Regions from separate parts of the Homo sapiens genome. Here region 2 is linked to region 1. The links are contacts of gene promoters, found by promoter capture Hi-C in blood cells and fetal thymus (Javierre and others, 2016). All regions are on one chromosome and are shown on one strand. The core of a region is centred on a gene start or on the middle of the fragment in contact, and the rest is flanking DNA. Distances in the headings are between cores, read along the strand shown.

Evidence for each region. Contacts are between HindIII fragments. The CHiCAGO score rates a contact against its expected background, and 5 or more counts as called.
Region 2: a fragment that was not itself captured here is called in contact with the fragment with the promoter of KBTBD6 in region 1 in 1 of 17 cell types (neutrophils); the score reaches 6.2 in neutrophils.

What each region holds. Positions count from the first base shown.
Region 1 is chr13:41,129,355-41,134,119 of GRCh38, forward strand. It overlaps KBTBD6 (kelch repeat and BTB domain containing 6), which reads right to left and starts at 3,448. Exons shown (of 1, transcript NM_152903.5): 1 at 1-3,448. The coding sequence starts at 3,157. The coding sequence ends at 1,133. KBTBD6-DT (KBTBD6 divergent transcript) reads left to right here and starts at 3,574. Exons shown (of 4, transcript NR_120423.1): 1 at 3,574-3,701. RefSeq lists enhancers at 3,101-3,150, 3,511-3,750. The HindIII fragment of the contact is 7,724 bases long and covers 1-4,765 here.
Region 2 is chr13:41,211,419-41,216,840 of GRCh38, forward strand. MTRF1 (mitochondrial translation release factor 1) reads right to left here. Exons shown (of 10, transcript NM_004294.4): 10 at 4,951-5,422. All of the region lies in intron 3 of KBTBD6-DT (KBTBD6 divergent transcript), which reads left to right. Among named protein-coding and RNA genes, the nearest start is that of KBTBD7, 20 kb to the left of the region's middle. The HindIII fragment of the contact is 3,447 bases long and covers 2,182-5,422 here.

The DNA of each region.
Region 1 (4,765 bases), core at 2,198-4,697:
TGATTAAATGAAGCATGTATCAGGTTTAGATCAACAATACAAACCTACAAAGCAAGTTACTTCTTTTTTAAGGTTTTTTGATGATTTGGTGACACAACTAGAATATAACCTTTTAGATGAAAATTGGTGACTTTGCAAATACACATTCTAAATTCCAAAATTAAAACGAAACTTCTTTTCAAACAGTAGAATCCTGGTTTGTTGTTTTTACTGTCAATGAGCTTATAGCTATTCTCTGTATTATTATAAATGAAGTCACCACTCAGTCACCCTAATACACATATGGTTTTTTTTCTTTTTTTTTTTTCCTTTTTTTTTTTTTTTTTTTTTTGAGACGGAGTCTCACTCTGTCATCCAGGCTGGAGTGCAGTGGCCCAGTCTCGGCTCTCTGCAGCCTCTGACTCCCGGGTTTCAGCAATTCTCCTGCCTCAGCCTCCTGGGTAGCTGGGATTACAGGCGCATGCCACCACGCCCAGCTAATTTTTGTATTTTTAGTAGAGACGGGGTTTCACCATGTTGGCCAGGCTGGTCTTGAACTGACCTCAGGTGATCCACCTGCCTCGGCCTCCCAAAGTGCTAGGATTACAGGCGTGAGCCACCGCGCCCAGCCTGCATTTTTTTCTTCATAGAAGAAAACAAAAGTAAAACTTCCCAAATTATGTTTAACTTATAACACATTTTGTAAAGACCCCTTAGGTTAACCATTTTGGAAGTCTACATTGTTCTGAAGAAAAAGATATGCTTTCAAAACACTATCTAGCAATTCCTAATCATTTTTCTATTATAAAAATTAAAATTCAAAAGTTATTGCCACAGTGCTTGTGGCAGTAAACAGAATGTAAAATGTATCAAAAGACTAAATTAGTGTCATGAAACATAAACATACTAAATAATCAAATAAATACTGGACCCTTAGCACAGAAAATTATTAAAAGGTTGATTTGAGTGTTAAAATTTGTAACATTAAATTACCTTCGTATTTCAAACATTACTTTTTCTAAACCAAACCAGAAGTTAATCAACTTTTCCTCTCCTTTAGGAACAAAAAGGATATTTAAGATATTTTCCAAAACAGTAAAAACAACTTAGTGTTTCAATCTAGTTACAACAAACCCTGTTGATCCTGTGCATTTCACTGAGGCGCTACACGCACCCAAAAATCATCATCAGAAAGAGAACTTGAACTTCCTGACTCAGAGTCTGGCTCACTGAATCCACCTAAGTCCCATTCAGTGCTAGACTCACTTGGTATTTCTTCTTCTTCAGTGAGGAAACTCTGACCAGGTTCAAGGCAGGAAGGATAAACACGAGCAGAGAGGCAAAAAAAGTTAGAATCAAACTGCAAGAGGCCTAATGTGGTACCTATATTAATCCATTGGTCTCCCCTAATATCATATTCATACACAGTCACCCGGTTCTTTTTCCACTGTGGGGTGCGAGAGGTGATGAGCAACAATTTTTGGCCATGCTTGATAATTCTGTAGTTGTTGGTCTCTGAGACCAAGGGAATATTATTCATTTGCCTCCATTCTGCCCTAACTGGGTTGTAGACCTTCATGACTGGGATATCACAGATACAATAGATCTCCTCATTGAAGACGCAGGCTTCCTGAAAGTCATTGCGCTTCAGAGAAACGCACTTCAGCCACATATTGTGGCTAGGATCATAACAGAACATGCGCTTACTGTTGAGAGCATAGAGATAGTCTCGAATTACCATTAGGTCAAAGGATAAAAAAGAATGGGGCAGTGGAGCCACCAATGCCCACTGGTTTCTCTTAACATTGTAGCATTCCACTTCCTTCAACTTAACTCCAGTAATAGGGTCTCGCCCCCCCAAAATGTAGATATAGCCATTGAGATATGCCACATCCATGCCCTCACGACACAGCAAGCGATCTGCAAGTTGCTGCCAACTATTCTGAGCTGGTTTATACACCCAGAGGTCTGTCCTGGGCTGAGCAGCTAGATAGATGTCATGGTCAGGAGAGATACAGACAGCTAAAGTGGTGACAGTCCTAGTGTGAGCCAGACAGGTCAAAGGTGACGGCACTTTGTAAAGGTCCCCCGAGTATGGATCACAGCAGAGAAAGGGATCTCTGGGGTGTCCAAAGAAGATCACCATCTCCTTGGCACACATACCCAGTCTCTGGGGTGGATTTTCTGCTGCAGATACAAGAGAGTTGCTGCTGCTACTGCTGCTGCTGCTGTTTGGCACTGGCACCAGAGACTTGTACAACAGGTCACCATAGCGCATCTGCAGGGCCCCTTCAATAACGTCCAGGCAGTACTTCTTCACGATGGGCTTGGTCAGCAGCCCTTCTAAGTAGTCCTGATCTTCTTCAGTGAAGTGCATCCAGCGCACGCACTTGAAGACTTCTGCAGCACTGGGACCCCGCTCTTTGGGAGCAGCCTCCAGCCACTGCACTGCCACATGGCACACTGTCTGCTCACTCTCCACGTCCAGACTATCCAAGCGCAGGACAGCCAGCAGCTGGGCCAGGGTCAGATCTGCTAGAGTCTCCTCCCGAATTGAACCCATGTGGCTGAGTTGCTTGAAGTTCTGAGCTATATAGGACTGGGCCTGGGATCGCAGCTTGCGATGGCCAAAGGCATCTGCAAACTTGAGGATGGCGGTGCAGTTGGTCAGGTCAAGACGTCGGGCTAAGAAGGAGGCACAGGCTTCCCGCACATATTCCAGCTGTAGCATGTCGGAGGCCGCGTACAGGCGCTCCACGTTGGCCTCACTGAGAGACACACGACCCGTGTAGCAGTAGTCGACCAACACCTCGAAGGACTCGGCGTCCACATCGTGCATGGTCACGCTGGCCTGCTGGCTCTCGTACATGCCACCTGTGAACATGCTCTTGAAGTAGGGACATGCCGCGGCCAGCACATTGCGGTTGCAGGGGAACAGGCGACCCGTGCCAGGCCCGCTGCCAGGCGTCACCACCTCGATGGTCACATCACACAGCAGCCGCGCATCGTAGAAGGACTTGAGCTGTGCCAGCAGGGCTGCAGAATGGGCCGTGTCCTTTAATTCCTCTGGACCCGTGAAAAAGGCCGAAACTGTGGGTTTGTGAATCTTCTTGGGCCGCTTCCCACCACGGGGACTGGCTAGGCGGCGAGAGCGCGGGGCGTCTTCCCGGGACTGCATGGTGGAGATGGCGACGGGCGCTGATGGCGAGAAACGCTGCAGGACCCGGCTCTGGCTCCTCCTCAACCTTCCCTCGCTGACGCTAAGATAGCAGCGTCTCCGAAGAGACAGCAGCACGAGCCCATTTACTGAATTCAACCCTACCCCGCAGAACCGCCTCCCGTTATCGTTTAGACAGTGGCTGACTCACCCTCTCTCACTCCCGCGTCCTTTCTCCGCGTCTGCTCGCCTTCACAGGACCCGCTGGCTTGGAGCCGCAGAAGCCGCTACTGCAGCGTGGGCGACAATGCTAGGCGCCCAGGAGAACTACCGCTCCCAGGTTGCCTTTCGCGCCCCGAGGGCTGCTGGGACTCTCGGACTCCCGGGCCGAGACCGAGGGAAAGAATCCGCTTTGCATGTCGGGAGTAGTAGTTTGTGTAATATCGCGATCCTTCTCTGGTGTTCCTTGTTTTAGCTGACGACACTCGAGAGCGCCAATTTTCCTAGATTCGATTTTGTGGTTTGGAACTGTGGTTTTGGAATCCAGAGTAGTCGCCTCGTTCTAGTATGTATTGTTTGACTTGTCTCTTTGAACTGTTTCTTCTTTTGTAAGACGTGAACAGTAGTATTTCATAGGATTGTGTGAAGATTACATGAGTTGGTTATAGGACGCTGTTAATAAATATTTGTTGGTTTGTAGAATAATTACTCAGTTCTTAGAATTATAAAGGTTCGATAAGTTTTCTTCCAGCCTTTATTAAAAAAAAAAAAAGGAAGCACCACTAATTTGAAATTATGAGCCTGTAGGAAAACAAAAAACCCCCCAAAACAGAAAACCTTGCAAGTTCCAGCAGAGATCCCTTTTTAGGGGCGTGTGTGTGTGTGTGTGTAAATTAGATTTTATTTTTAGGTTTACGGAAAAATTGAGCAGCAGGGACAGGGAACTTCCATATATCTCTCCCCACTTCACAGTTCCCTTATTATTAACATCTTGTATTAGTGTATGTATCCATTAGAAGTGATTTTTTTTTTTTTTTTTTTTTTACTCACTATGCCTCTCCCTGGTACCAAAAGATAACTCAGGGTTTGTAGGATTGGTTGGCTATCGCTGGAATTAGATCCCTGGCTTTTTCACAATTGCCTGTCCTTATTTGCCATGACTAAAAGGAGACCACCTCCAGTCACCTGACTTTGAGACTTTCCTTCCATATCTGCATTTCAAAACCTGAAGTCCTCTGTAGCCACTTCTCCCACTTGGTCTCTCCAATATTCAGTACCCCTTTCCCTTTTTTACACAAAAGAAGAGACATGCTTTAGGGGGTCCTCACCCCAAAACACAATGGAAGCCAGAGGCCTGGTTGGTAATTTAGCATCCTTTTAGACCCAGTGGCTCAAGCATTTCTCCCCTTGCTTGTATGAAGTTGCCTCTCCATCAGAGCTGACTTTATTTCTAGTCATTCACTCAACCTTTACTTACCCCGTGCAGTTCAGACATTAGAAGTCACTGAGAACACCTAACACGTTTCCGCTTCGGACTCACCTCCTGTGAAACCCTGCCACTGTCTTCCTCTCTCATCACTGTCCACCGTAGTCAAAACAATCAAGCCACTCTTCTTCCCATTCCCTCTG
Region 2 (5,422 bases), core at 2,655-5,154, 83 kb after region 1:
TGTCTTATTGCACTATGTCTTGAAATGTTGTTGTAGTTATTATTTTTGACTGCTTCATCATTTAGTCTTTCTACTGAAGAGTAATTTACACCCCACAAATACAGTATTATAATATTCTGTGTTTTCTGATGTGTTTACTATTGCCAGTGAGATTTATACCTGCAGATTTTTTTTTTTTTTTGAGACGACATTTCATTCTTGTTGCCCAGGCGGTAGTGCAATGGCATAATCTTGGCTCACCACAACCTCTGCCTCCTGGGTTCAAGTGATTCCCCTGCCTCAGCCTCCCAAATAGCTGGGATTATAGGCATGGGCTACCATGCCTAATTTTGTATTATTTTTAGTAGATTCAGGGTTTCTCCATGTTGATCAGGCTGGTCTTGAACTCCTGACCTCAGGTGATCTGCCCATCTTGGCCTCCCAAAGTGCTGGGATTATAGGTATGAGCCACCGTGCCCAGCCCCAGATGATTTCTTGTTGCTCATTAACCTCCTTTTATTTCAGATTGAAGGACTCCCTTTAGCTTTTTTTTTTAGGACAGGTCTGGTGTTGATGAAATCTCTTGGCTTTTGTTTTTCTGTCTTTATTTTTCCTTCATGCTTGAAGGATATTTTTGCTGGATATACTATTCTAGAATAAAAGTTTTTTCCTTCAGCACTTTATATATGTCATGCCACTCTCTCTCTGGTCTGTAAAGTTTCCACTGAAAAGTTTGCTGCCAGACATACTGGAGCTCCACTGTATGTTGTTTCTTTTCTCTTGCTGCTTTTAAGATCCTTTCTTTATCTTTGAGCTTTGGAAGTTTGGTTATTAAATGCTTTGAGGTAGTCATCTTTGGGTTAGATTGGCGTGGTGTTCTATAGCCTTTTTGTATTGAATATCAGTATCTTCCTCTAGGTTTGGGAAGTTCTGTGATATTTTCGCTTTCAAGAAACTTTGTACCTCCATCTCTTTCTCTACCTCCTCCTTAAGGCCACTCTTAGATTTGCCATTTTCAGGCTATTTTCTGGATCTTGTAGTTGTGCTTCACTCTTTCTGATTCTTTTTTCCTCTCCTCTGTGTATTGTGTGTGTATGTGTGTGTGTGTGTGACAGAGTTTCGCTCTTGTTGCCCAGGCTGGAGTGCAGTGGTGTGATCTTGGCTCACTGCAAACTCCGCCTTCCGGGTTCAAGTGATTCTCCTGCCTCAGCCTCCCAAGTAGCTGGGATTACAGGCATGCGCCACTACACTCAGCTAATTTTTGTATTTTTAGGAGAGACAGGGTTTCACTAAGTTGGTCAGTCTGGTCTTGAACTCCTGACTGCATGTGACCCACCCACCTCGGCCTCCCAAAGTGCTGGGATTACAGGCATGGGCTACAGTGCCCTGCCTCCTCTGTGTATTTTCAAATAGACTGTTATCAATCTCACTAATTCGTCTGTTTGTTCAATTCTGCTATTAAGGGACTGGACTCTGATGCATTCTTCAGTATGTCAGTTGCATTTTTGACTCTAGAATTTCTGCTTGATTCTTTTTAATTATTTCAATCTCTTTGTTAAGTTTACCTCATGGAATTCTGAAATCCTTCTCTGTGTCATCTCAAATTTCTTTGAGTTTCCTCAAAACAGCTATTTTGAATTCTCTGTCTCAAAGGTCACATCTCTTTTTCTTTGGGATTGGTCCTTGGTGCCTTATTTAGTTCATTTGGTGAGATCATGTTTTCCTGGCTGGTGCTGATGCTTGTAGATGTTTGTCTGGGCAATAAAGAGTTAGGAATTTATTATAGTCTTTGCAATCTGGGCTTTGCAATCTGTGCCTGCCCTTCTTGAGAAGGCTTTCCTGGTATACAGAGGGACTAGGGCCCCAAGCTCAGTAATGCTATGGTTCTTGCAGACTCATAGAAGTCCCACCTTGGTGGTCTTGGATAAGATTATGAAGAATTCTCTGGATTACCAGGCAGAAACTCTTGTTTTCTTCCTTATTTTCTCCCAAACAGAGTCTCTCTGTGCTGAGCCGCCTGGAACTGGGGGTGAGGTGATGCAAACACCCATGTGGCCACCACCAGTGTAATTGCCCTGAGGCAGACCTGAAACCAGCATAGTACTGGGTCTTGCCCAAAGCCCATTGTAACCACCACCTGGCTACTGCCTATGTTTGCACAGGCCGTAAGGCTCTACAATAAGCAGGTGGTGAAGCCAGCCAAGCTTGTGTCCGTCTCTTCAGGATGGTGAGTTCTCCCAGGCCCCAGGCAGGTCCAGAGATGCTGTCTGGGAGCCAGGGATTGCAGTAAAAACCTTACAAGAAGTCTACCTTGTGTCTTATTCTACTGTGACTAGGCTGGCACCCAAACCACAAGACAAAATCCTTCACACTCTTCCCTCCCCTTTCCACAAGCAGAGGGGCCTCTCCCTATGGCCTCTGCCACCACTGACCCATGGCGAATTCTGTCAGACCACCACTAGTGTTCACTTAAGGCCCAAGGGCTCTTCAGTCAGCTGTGACAAATGTTGCCAGGCCTGGAACTCACCCCTCAGGGTAGTGAAATCCCCTCTGGCACAGTGCAGGTCCAGAAATGCTATCCAAGAGCCTGGACCTGGGGACCCCAAGAGCCCGTTGGTGCTCTACACCATGGCCAAGCTGATACCTGAGGCTGGCATGTCCGAGTCTCACTCAAGGTCCACAGCATACTGCCTGTGCATCGCTGTTGGTTACTCAGGGCCCATGGGCTCTTTAGTCAGCAGGTGATGAAACCTGCAAGACTGAGTACTTCCCTTCAAGGCAGAGGGTTCCCTTCTGGCCCAGGGTGTGTCTAGAAATGTTGTCTGGGAGCTAGGGCCTAGGATGGGGGCCTCACAATTCTGTCAGGTGCCCTGTCCTATTGTGGTTGAGCTGGTATCCAAGATGCAAGACAAAGTCCTTACTCTTCCCTCTCCTCTCCTCAAGCAGAAGGGAGTCACTTTTATTGCTGTGAGCTGCACTGCCTGGGGTTGGGGGAGGGGTGGCACAAGCCCTTCCTTAGCCACCCAACTGGTGTCCCATGTCCACTGGCTCTGCACTCAGCACAGAACAAGGATTTACCTAGCAACTACAGTCCTTGTGGCCTAGACTGCCTTTCAAGTTTATTTAGGACCTTAGAACACTTTAGCCCACAGTGTTGAGGCTTGCTGAAACTCAGGTTCTGACCGCTGGGATGGGCAATTCCCCTCTGGCTAGGGCTGGTCTAGATGCTCCCTCTGTGGATGGGCATCTGCTGAGTTTAACTCAGTTTTGCTTTCTGCTGTGACCAGGCAGCACTGAGTTCAACACAGGGTCCCAAAATTGCTGTGCTTTCCCTCTCTCAAGGGCACAGCACCTGCTGCTGCTAGGGGAACGGGGAAGGAGCAGCGTTACCAATTCAAAACTATCTTTCCTACCTTCTTGCAGTGATATGAAGTTAAAATCAGGTACTGTGATTGCTAACCTGATTTTTGGTTCTCATGAAGGTGCTTTTTGTATGTGTAAATAGTTGTTAAATCAGTGTTGCTGCATTGGGGGACAATTGGTAAAGGTTTCTACATTCAGCCATCTTGCTCAGACCTCTCCTGATTGAACTATTTCTTAAAAATTATTGTGGCTGGGCACAAAGGCTCACATGTGTAATCCCAGCACTTTGAAAGGCTGAGGCAGGATGATCACTTAAGGCCAGGAGTTCAAGACCAGCCTGCGTAACATAGCAAGACCCCATCTCTACAACAATAAAAAAATTATCTGGGTATGGTGATGCATGCCTGTAGTCCCAGCTACTTGGGAGGCTAAGGTGGGAGGATTGCTTGAGCTCAGGAGTTCAAGGTTACAGTGAGCTATGATCATGCCACTGCACTCCAGCCTGGGCAAGAGTGACACCTTGTCTCTAAAAAAATAATTTGGCTGGGCGCAGTGGCTCACACCTGTAATCCCAGCACTTTGGGAGGCTGAGGTGGGTGGATCATGAGGTCAAGAGTTCAAGACCAGCCTGGCCAAGATGGTGAAACCTCATCTCTACTAAAAATACAAGAAAATTAACTGGGCGTGGTGGCACACACCTGTAATCCCAGCTATTTGGGAGGCTGAGGCAGAGAATTTCTTAAACCCAGGAGGCAGAGGTTGCAGTGAGCCGAGATCACGCCACTGCCCTCCAGCCTGGGTGACAGAGCGAGACTCTATCTCAAAAATAAATAAATAAATAATTTATTTTAGACTTTTTCATTATGCTTGAATATTTTCAAAATAAAAATTAGGGAAAACATTCCTCTTTAATGTTTACATACAAACAATTCCATTGGCCTTAAAACTCTTAACTAGTCTTTCTTGGCACATAAACTCTTCTCTGAGGAGTAACTAAAATAATAATCCTTTCTTTTTTTTTTTTTTTTTTTAATTTTTTGAGATGGAGTCTTGGTCTGTCACCCAGGCTGGAGGGCAGTGGCGCGATTTCAGCTCACTGTAACCTCCGCCTCCTGGGTTCAAGCGATTCTCCTGCTTCAGCCTCCTGAGTAGCTGGGATTGCAGGCATCCACCATCATGCCCGGCTAGTTTTTGTATTTTCGTAGAGATGGGGCTTCACCATGTTGACCAGGCTGGTCTTGAACTCCTGACCTCAGTGATCTGCCCGCCTCGGCCTCCCAAAGTGCTGGGATTACAGGCATGAGCCATTGTGCCCAGCCATTCCTCTCTTTTTAACTTGAAACGTCTTCGGAACAATTACTAAATACATCATGCCACTCTGTATTACTTGGTGATTTACATGTTTAAATCCTTCAGTCAACTGCAAGCTCTTTAAGGTAAGGACTGGGTTTTATATAATGCTGCACAAAACTGATCTCAGTGTATTACTCATATTACACATCTATTGATGCTCATTAAGTTAAGCCAGCAAACAATAACTTTTTTACTCCAGCTTGCCAGGAGTAAAAAAAAAAAAAAAAAAAAAAGAAATAGAAGTCAAACAAAGAGTCTATTTAAAATATCAGCTTATTGTTTATATAGTGTGGAATTCATACAGCAATCAAAGGGCTTTACTGTCTGTACCCAGATGCTCATTGTTATTGAATGACTCATATTCTTCATAATTTTTATTTAAAAGTTGCAGTCTAAGTCTTAACTTTAACATGATTAACAGTATTATGGTTTTTCTTTATGTTTTGAGTTTTTTTGTAGACATGGGGTCTATTTTGCCCAGGCTGGTCTCAAATTCTTACCTCAAGAGATCTTCCCCCTTTGGCCCTTCAAAGCACTGGGATTACAGGCATAAGCATCCACTATAGGCCAAGGTACTTTGTATTTAAATAAAAGGTTTATAAGGAAGTCTAAAATTCATATTTTACTAAATTTTACCATATTTTCCTGAAGTAGTAGATTAAAAATATATTTAAATTAATTCATAGATGGCTGGGGAAAAAAGGCATATAAAGAGAACAAGTGACTT